Regions from separate parts of the Homo sapiens genome. Here region 2 is linked to region 1. Evidence: promoter capture Hi-C in human tissues and cell types (Jung and others, 2019). All regions are on one chromosome and are shown on one strand. The core of a region is centred on a gene start or on the middle of the fragment in contact, and the rest is flanking DNA. Distances in the headings are between cores, read along the strand shown.

Region 1 (4,839 bases), core at 188-2,687:
TGAGAAACCTATCTTCCTCTCCTATTAGCTGTCACCAACAGTAAATCCCTCTTCTTTTTTAACGTCCAGAGAACTGCCTCCCATCCCAAGCCTACTGATGCTACTTTAAAACATATTTATTAGATCCATGGGCCTCCTTTGTTGACTTGGAAAAGTCTAGATTAAGACACCAATTTGGCTACTGTAAATCAGCACGGCCATAAACATGGAAACCCCTTTTAGTGTTTATCTATGCAGGGCACCGTGTTAAATTTTTTTTTTTTTTTACGCAATATGGGCCGTGCGCAGTAGCTCACGCCTGCAATCCCAGCACTTTGGGAGGCCGGCGGGGGCCGATCACGTGAGGTCAGACTTTCAGACCATCCTGGCTAACGTGGCGAAGCCCCGTCTCTACTAAAAATACAAAAATTAGCTGGGTACGGTGATGCGTGCCTGTGATCCCAGCTACTCAGGAGGCTGAGACAGAAGAATCGCTCGAACCCAGGAGGCGGAGGTTGCAGTGAGCCGAGATCGCGCCACTGCACTCCAGTCTGGGTAACAGAGAGAGACTCCGTCTCAAAAAAGAAAAAAAAAAGATTTTTAAACACAGTATGCACACAATAATACTCCTAAGAGCCCTGTGAGTCCTACGATTACTGTCCCCATTTCAGATCAGAGCCCACGTTCCAAGCATAAAGCCTCCCATCTAAACAGCAGGGCTGTGGTGGCGATTCCAGGAGATACTTGGAAGCCAGAGTTAACTGCAGGTTAAGAACACAGGGCTCTGCAGCCAGACTGTCCGGTTTCGAATCCCGATGCCACCTTTTGTTTGGTTCTGGGATTTGGGGGCAAACCGAGGTAAATAAGTTGCCCCGACTCGTAGGAAGCGCCCATAAATGTCAGTTCTCATTCTTCCTAGTTAGCTGTTTTGGGGTCCTCTCCACAGCAACGGAATAGGGCAGTTTAACTCTGGTTAACTCTCTGGCCTCCGATGCTAAGGTTGCGCCCTCTGCTTGGCCCTCTGAGCGTCAGGGCTTCCGCTGATTCTGCCCCAGAGCCCTGTTGCCGTCCGCTCACCTCCTGATGATCCTCCACCACCCACACTGGGAGCTTGGGGTAACGCCGGAGACCAGCGCGCCCTCCCGCGGAGTCACTCATGTTTTTGCGCCCGTCAGTTTTGCAGTAAAGCGGTGGCAGCTGGAGAAGACCCGGGAAAGCCGGCGCCTCATCCCGGCCAGCTCTCTCCGGGCGGAAGCGCTCCCTCACCCGGTTGCGTTTTCGGATTGGAGGACGTAGGGGGAGGGGGCGCGGGCTCCAAAGGGTCTTTTGCTGACGATTGGTCTAGACGTCCATCGCTTTCGTTGACGCGCCAATCACCGCGCACAAGGCCCTGCGGTGGGCTGAAGAGTTTTCCCTCCCTTGGCCCAGCTTTCTCAGGTTTGCTTTTTAATTCCCTCGGTTTCCTGTTCCGGAGGCGCGGGCGGTGCCACTGTCTTGGTACCTGCGGTAGTAGCCTGGCTTTGCTCTGACGGCGATCTCGCGGCCCGAGAGCCTTTTATAGGTAAAAGGGGTACCTTGCAAGTGTTAGAAGAGAGTTTCCGAGTGTCAGGATTTAAACGGGGCTGGAGTCTCCGGGGCTGGGGTGAAAAGCGTCCGGGAATTGGGGTCGGGCAGCCCCACTTCAGATCTGCAGCTAAGGGCAAAAGAGCGACGCTAGGCCTGGATCCCGCAAATAAGTGGAAGTGAAAAAGGAGACCTTTCATTCATTTGTGGAGCACACACTATGGTCCAGGCCTGGGGCCGCCCGGCTCTCGGAGGGGAGTGAGATCCTGAGCTCAGCGCCTGCCTCGTGGGGCGTACCGTCTGGCGGGAGATGCAAACAGTAAATGTGCAGTTATGGATCAGGATGAAGGTGACTGCCCTGCAGATCCACCTGGGGAAAGAGGGAGTTCTCAATAAAAATGTAGTCACACTTTAAAATTCTTTTTACATGCACTGACGTTCTGGCCGTGTTAACTATTCAAGACAGCTCCTTCAGTGTCTCTGTTTCCAAACCGCAACCGAGAAGAGACAGACGGAGAAAAGAGAGTTACTTTTCCAGGTGCAGTGAATTCCTTGACTTTTGAATTAAAGTCTGCATCCACAACACAGCCGGACTATGCCTTCAATAGGTCAATTTCATGATTAGTATTTTTAGATTTTCTAACTACTGAAACATCCATGAGGATCTGGCAGTGAATGTTCAGCTCTTGTTACACACTGTACAAGAGTGTTCGTGACCCTGACTTTTGCCCACCTCTAGGTGCGGCACACACCTTTGTGTTCCCCTAAGCCCTGCACATACCTCTTTTTTGTGTGTTTATTGCATTATTTTGTATTTTTAAAACACTTACTTGTACGTGGGTTCTGAGTTCCTTGAATCCTACAGGCTGTGTGTCTTATTATCTCTGAGTCTACAGGGCCTGGGACAGTGCTTCCCATTTATGGGCTCATTAAATATTGCATGACTCAGTGAAAAGGCCTGCTTTCTGTTGCGGAGGTACATGGAAGGGAAATGTACAGTAGCAACATGGAAACATACTATTGGTGAGAGAGTAAACATTTATTGACCACCTACTGTGTGTAGGTTGCTTTTCCCGGGGATGTGAAGGATACAGAAATGACTGTGAATCAACCCATATCATCAAGGAGCTGATAATCTAGTGGAAGAGTTAGACGTGTGCATACTTCACTATGATATGAGGCAGTCTCTGGTAAGTGCTGTAAAAGGATTAAGTATAGACTAAGTCTAGAGGGAATGGGATTACCTAAGGGAATCAGGAAGGGCTTCATAGAGGAGGTGGCATTTAAGATTGATAGATGGATAGAAAATCACTGGGCAGATTCATACGTTGGGAGATTTTTTTTTTTTTTTTTTTTTGAGCTAGAGTTTCGCTCTTGTTGCCCAGGCTGGAGTGCAATGGCGCGATCTGAACTCACTGCAACCTCTGCCTAGGGTGGGAGATTTTAGAGAGGAGAACGGGAGCAAAGAACTAGCTGGTTCTTTGTACTCGAATGGTAATCTGTTGGGAAAACATGGGGTAGTAGGGTCTTTCTGGGGAAGGTACTGGAGAACAAGCCTGGGTCCAGAGTCAATAGAGCCTTAAATGCCAAGCACAGAGGTTGAACTTGATTCTGTTGGCAGTGAGTAGCCTATGGTGGCAGGAGCACCTGTCCGGGCCCCAGGTTTATCATGAGGGTACTGGACTGGATAATAGTAATAAGGAGTCAGGCGCAGTGACTCACGCCTGTAGTTCCAGCTATTTTGGAGGCTGAGGTGAGAGGATTGCTTGAGCCCAGGAGTAAGAGACAGCAGTGAGCTATGATTGCACCACTGCACTCCAGCTTAGGGACAGAGTAGACTTTGTGTCTTAAAAAAAAAATCAGATATTATTTGGTGCCTATTATTTATTAAGCACACTGACTGCTAGCATAATCTGAAATTATTTTCATGAGCCATTTGAAAGTCTACATAGTAAAGTTCTATTGATGAGACTTTTAGAAAGACTTTCAGAAAATGTTTCTATGTTACAGCTTTTTGTACTCAATATTTATGTGAGTTTTTAAAAAATGTTTTGCTGAAGTTCAAGTATTTGGAAAATCATTCATGTTTACAGTGTTTTTATGTGGGAGGAACTGAGAATGAAAATTAAGAATCATTAACTGGTGTGTTAACAAGATTCTGGTTATGTTTGAATTTGAATGCTGGTCTCACTGTGATTTTTGTGTTTGGTCTATGCCTACATGGTTTGTTTTTTTTTTTGTTTTTTTTTTTTTGTTTGTTTTTTTGAGACTGTCGCCCAGGCTGGAATGCAGTGGCGCCATCTCGGCTCACTGCAAGCTCTGCCTCCCAGGTTCATGTCATTCTCCTGCCTCAGCCTCCCGAGTAGCTGGGACTACAGGCGCCCACCACCACGCCCGGCTAAGTTTTTGTATTTTTAGTAGAGACAGGATTTCACTGTGTTAGCCAGGATGGTCTCCACCTCCTGCCCTCGTGATCCACCTGCCTCGACCTCCCAAAGTGCTGGGATTACAGGCGTGAACTACCATGCCCGGCCTATGCCTACCTGTTTTTACCATGAAGGAAACGAGAGTATGAAGGGGGAGAGGGGAAATGATATTTTTCCCAAGTCTTTTAACAAATTAGAGATGATCTATGCCTATAAGTCTTTTTAGCTGCTGATAGTTTTGAGTTGGCAAAACTAGTAATAATGACATTTTAAAATTTAAGGACATTAAAAATTTAGTTGGAAACTTTAACACAGTTCAACATGCTTTTAATTTTGTTTGTAGGCTAAGTGTATTGGAAACTACAAAATTAGTGTTATGGTAATTGCAGAAATATTTTGTAGCATTGGCAGTTTGGGAAACATGTTTATGTCTGTTTTATTCTTTCTGTTTTTTAGAGCTTATATTCTCTGTGGAAGATGTGACATATCCAGGCGGAACATCATGATGCAGGGAAACACATGGTGAGTGCCGTGATGGGAATGGCAATAGTTTGGGAGAACCGAGAGAGGAGCAGACATTGGTGCTGGGCTATAGAGGGTGGAAAGGATTTAGATACATGGGGAGAGGGGATAATGTGCTCATTCTTTCAACAGTGGGCACAATACAATAGAGGGCCATGCCCAGGGCTGGGAAGCCAGACCAGAACAGTTAATAGAAATCCCAGAGCGCTGCCCTGACAGCGCTTGCAGTTCCGAGGTGCAGGCAGACATTAAAGGTGGAATTAGGTCCTTAGAAGGTGGATTGTAATTATTGTAGGACCTGCTAAGAAGCAGCACAGAGTGTTGTGAGAGCAAGGAACCTAACAAAGCC
Region 2 (4,846 bases), core at 1,970-4,469, 1.0 Mb before region 1:
CTCACTGCAACCTCCGCCTCTGGGTTCAAGCCATTCTCCTGCCTCAGCCTCCTGAGTAGATGGGACTACAGGCACACATCTCCACGCCCGACTAATATTTGTATTTTTGGTAGAGACAAGCTTTCGCCATGTTGGCCAGGCTGGTCTTGAACTCCTGACCTCAGGTGATCCACCCGCCTCAGCCTCCCAAAGTGTTGGGATTGCAGGCATGAGCCACTGCACCTGGCCTAATTTCTGTTTCTATAGATTTTCCTATTCTGGACATTTCATATAAAGGAATTCTATAATATGTGGTCTTTCATGTCTGGCCTCTTTCTTGGCATAATGTTCTCGTGGTTCACCCATGCTGTTGTGTGTGTCAGCACTTCATTTCTTTTTTTGGCTGAATAATATTCCACTGTATGGGTATACCATATTTTGCTTATCCATTCGTTGGTTAAGGGAGATTTGGGTTGTTTCCACTTTCTGGCTATTATGAATAACGCTTCTTTGAACTTTCATGTACAGGTTTTTGTGCAGACATACGTTTTCAGTTCTCTTGGGTATATACATAGCAGCGGAACTGATGAGTCATATGGTGACTCTGTGTTTAACGTTTTAAGGAGAACTGCCAGATCCACTGTGCCATTTTACATCTGTGGTTGCTTTTGGCTGTGGCATGGTGGGGCCTTTTCTTGGCTTCTGCCTTTTGTGCTCCTCGTTATCCCACCTGAGCCTCAAGTGGCAACACGCTTCCAGGAATGTCTTGTTTTCTCCTCAAACTTACTCCCAATCAAAGTGAAGTGACCTGTTCCCAAGCAAAGACAGACGAAAGAGAACAAAAATGCAGCAGGGTCCAGCTGCACACCCAACATTGAGCTCCACAATGTATGTGTTCAGTTCTTTTCTTACTCACAGTAAGACTTGAGGTAGATGTCATTGTCTCCACTTTATCAACGAGGAAGTGGAAAAGGCTTCCAGGTTTGTCATTTGAACCCCACTGTGTTGGACATTCCTTCTGCCATCTTATAGTTTTATTGCTCTAAGCTCCTTCCCAAGAAAGCAGTTCTCAAACTGTGCATCACAGAACCTGATGGTACTTCAGGGGTTCAACAACAAACAGTATTTTCTTCTAAACAATGAGTGTTTAACATTCCTGAAAAATCCGCTCCTCATTTTTATCTGTCTTAGAGTTCAGTGGAAACCTTGTCAGTCATTTTCTTTTCTTTTTTTTTGGAGACAGAGTTTTGCTCTATCACCCAGGCTGGAGAGCAGTGGTGCAATCTTGGCTCACTGCAACCTCCGCCTCCAGGGTTTAAGCAATTCTCGTGCCTCAGCCTCCCGAGTAGCTGGGACTACAGGCGCACGCCACCATGCCCAGCTAATTTTTGTATTTTTAGTAGAGATGGGGGTTTCACCATGTTGGCCAGGCTGGTCTCAAATACCTAACCTCAAGTGACCTGCCCATCTCAGCCTCCCAAAGTGCTGGGATTGCAGGTGCCCAGCCACCTCGTCAGTCTTATTTACCACTTTTTGTCCAGGGCTTACAACAATACATGGCATACAGTAATTGTTCAATAAATATTTTTCTAGTTAATAAATTTTTCTCTGCTAAAAATTTGGGAAACCATTGTGCTAAGGCATTGCTTCGTAAACCCGACAAAGTCAAAACTTGCAATTTAACTTACTGTTAAATTGCCCATATAATATATTTTTTAAATATAGCTCATGAGGCCCTGCTGAATCAGACTCTTCAGGGTGGGTGTTGGCATTGCTGTTATGAATCTCCCCCGGTGATGCTGAAAGAGCTTTCTGCAGACCCTAGTTTGCAAGCCACTGCTCTGAGAGGTACTGGCTCTGCTTGGCCTCAGGGCCAGTGACATCTATGGTTACTTTCCCAGGCCTAAGAGATCTTACTCTGGCCCAGAGCCACAGTCAACAACTGTACAGTCTGGAATTTTTATCTGTATCTATTGTCATGACAGTCCACTGGCTATGGCTGGCTTCACTCTAACCATTAGACTTTTCTTTTCTTTTCTTTTCTTTTTTTCTGAGACAGAGTCTCGCTCTGCCGCAGTGGCACAATCTCATGTGACTGCAGTGGCACAATCTCCGCTCACTGCAACCTCCGCCTTCCGGGTTCAAGCAATTCTCCTGCCTCAGCCTCCCAAGTAGCTGGGATTACAGGCACCCACCACCATGCCCAGCAAATTTTTGTATTTTTAGTAGCGACAGGGTTTCACCATGCTGGCAAGACTGGTCTCGAACTCCTGACCTCAGGTGATCTGCCCACCTCGGCCTTCTAAAGTGCTGGGATTACAGGCATGAGCAACCGCGCCTGGCCACCATTAGACTTTTCAATGTGACTGCAAGCCTGAGGAGCACTACAAGCCAGTCTTTCCCTAGACCTCAACTGTAGACCTTCTTTCTTATTGTTAACTAGTAGCAATTAAAGCCATTCTGGATTGAATATCAGAAGTTCTCCATGACTGGAGAAAAGAATCTCACCACTTCTAACACCCTGTAATTCTTCCCTCTTACCCCCAACCCCCGCTCACCAAGGACTTGAGGGATAAGCTTATGCCATGCAACGGGGTTCCCCTTTCCCCTCCACCTATAGAAAGTGGCAGTAGGTCCCATAGATTCAGTTCTTCTTTCAAGGTCAAGGACAGTGTAGGAAATGGTAACATCTTCCACTCCATTCCATTACACTGGGGCCACCCACTGATGGTGGCCCTAAAGAGAAAAAAGAACTCCTGACTCAATTTTACATGCTTGCTTCGAGTCCCACTTCCCCTTTTCTCCTAGGAGGAAGAAGGACTTTATCATACTAGCAAATCTGAAGATTATCTAAAGATATTCAATTATGTATCTATAGTCAGAGTAGACCCACAGTGTGAGGAAGACCAGGCTATGGCAGCAGGGCTGCCCCTTAGGCAGAGTGGGGGTAGAAGAGTGAGGGTGGGAATAGGGGTGTTGGCTGAGGAGATGGAAGGGGAAGCAGGAAGGCAGGGTAAATCTGGATGAGCATGAGATAGAGCCCAGTCAACAAAGCACAGTACCCATGAGGGTGCAGCAATCTCCAATCCCAGTGCAAGCAAATCACTGGCCCCAGGGACTTGAGAAGCCTCAAGATGGCCTCACAGGAGTGCAAAGGAAATAAAAATAGTCTCTCTAGCACTTTGCCACCCAAGGGGTGGTCCTCCAACCAGCAGTGGCAGCATCACCCAAGCGTTTGTTAGACATGCAGAATCTCACGTCCCACCACCTAACTTAACAAGACCTCAGCATGATTTGAATGCACATTAAAGTGCTCTGAACCAGCTTGAGAACAAGCACAACTCAGTATTAAAACACAGTAGATGGTTCAGCTGAGGCTGCGTCTAGGCAACTCTCAAGCTTTGATGCACATAAGAATTGCCTGGAAAGATTCTGATTCAGGCAGAATCAGAATTTTCGGGTGCAGAATTTGGGTAGGGCACAAGAATCTATATTTTTAGCAAATGCACAGATGATTCTGATTCCAGAGGTTCCAACTGCTTTACTTCTGAACAGAGGACATGAAGTTCCCACTTACGTGTGTGCAGAATAATATTTTAAATTCTTAACTCATTGTTTCCATGTATGTGTCTCTTTTGCTCATTGCCCACTTCCAGCAGATAGGCCATTTTGTGCCCGTTGCCATTTGGAAAGGGTGTAAGAAGACTGAAGTCTAAAGAACAGAGAGACAGACAGATAGACTTCTTCCTGACTGTGGCTCCCAAAAGCCTATAGCCTTTGGTTGTACTTGTACAATGCAAACAAATGCCAGTAGATAGACAGGCTATTAAGTGTGAGTCCCAGTGGATTAGGAACTCAGAATTCAGTTGCGGTAGAAAATAAAGAAAGCAGAATATGGAGTGAAAATTGCACCAGCTACATGGGAAGGTTGGCAGGAATTTAGCTCAAGAACATTCTTTTAAAGAGTCCCCTGGTGGGGCCCCTGGTGGGGCACCTCTGGTGCAGCAGACTCTCTCGGCACTACCTCCAACGTTTCTCCAGAGAATCCTGGGCTTTTCTACCAAATGTCCAATTTTCCTTATTCTTTCTTCATGTATTTTCTCTATTCTCCTCAACATTGCCTTTAATGGCCCATCAGGAGACACCACCATGACCCTTTCAAACTAGAGAACCCAAACAACAGCGGAGAAAACAGCGATTCTTTTGATCCACTTTCTCCCGGGCCAGGGAAAACCCAGTGTTTCAAAACACGTGCTTTCCCTACCATTCCTGGAGAGAGAATGAACCATGTGAGTCTTTCCTGGGTGAGGCCAGTTTCATGCCTGACCTGCTCTCCAATCAGCAGAGAAAAGGACAATGTTTCCCTATTAAAACCAGATGAACTTTCACAGCTACTCCCCAAATATTCTTATCAATGTCGTCCTTCACTGGAAGTTAGGGTGAAATATGTATTAGCGCTTGGCAGAAATGCCAGCTAATTGCAGCTAAGATAGTGTTGCAATTTCTACCCTCCTAAATTTCTCAACGGCAAAGTTCAGCTTTCCTAAAGCTTCGGGGTCTTTGCAACCTGAAATGTCAACCCCGCAAAGACCAATTCCTATGAAAAAGCATTTGCTCTGTAATTGGTTATGGAAATGGAACCTTTAAGTGAGCTTCTGGGAGTAACAGTAGTCTGCTAGAGCAATGGCAACCCCATCCTCCTCTTTCTTGAGAGCAACGGCAACCCCATCCTCCTCTTTCTTGAAGTGAGCACCAGGATTGAAGTACAGACATACTCAGGATAAGAGTAGAATAATTCCCACACATAATCTCCAGTCTCTGTTATTTCTGTACAGGAACTTTTCCTAGTCCATCCAAATTTGACACA

The links. Contacts are between HindIII fragments. The study calls those that stand out against the background at their distance.
Region 2: a fragment that was not itself captured here is called in contact with the fragment with the promoter of DROSHA in region 1 in 1 of the 25 tissues and cell types used here (dorsolateral prefrontal cortex).

What each region holds. Positions count from the first base shown.
Region 1 is chr5:31,528,691-31,533,529 of GRCh38, reverse strand. DROSHA (drosha ribonuclease III) reads left to right here and starts at 1,437. Exons shown (of 36, transcript NM_001382508.1): 1 at 1,437-1,540; 2 at 2,005-2,080; 3 at 2,606-2,732; 4 at 4,425-4,490. The coding sequence starts at 4,471. C5orf22 (chromosome 5 open reading frame 22) reads right to left here and starts at 1,229. Exons shown (of 9, transcript NM_018356.3): 1 at 1,057-1,229. The coding sequence starts at 1,137. RefSeq lists enhancers at 1,008-1,057, 1,108-1,157, 1,188-1,357. The HindIII fragment of the contact is 14,071 bases long and covers 1-4,839 here.
Region 2 is chr5:32,538,497-32,543,342 of GRCh38, reverse strand. All of the region lies in intron 4 of LOC124900954 (a long non-coding RNA gene), which reads right to left. Among named protein-coding and RNA genes, the nearest start is that of SUB1, 45 kb to the left of the region's middle. RefSeq lists enhancers at 338-397, 768-967. The HindIII fragment of the contact is 3,761 bases long and covers 1,339-4,846 here.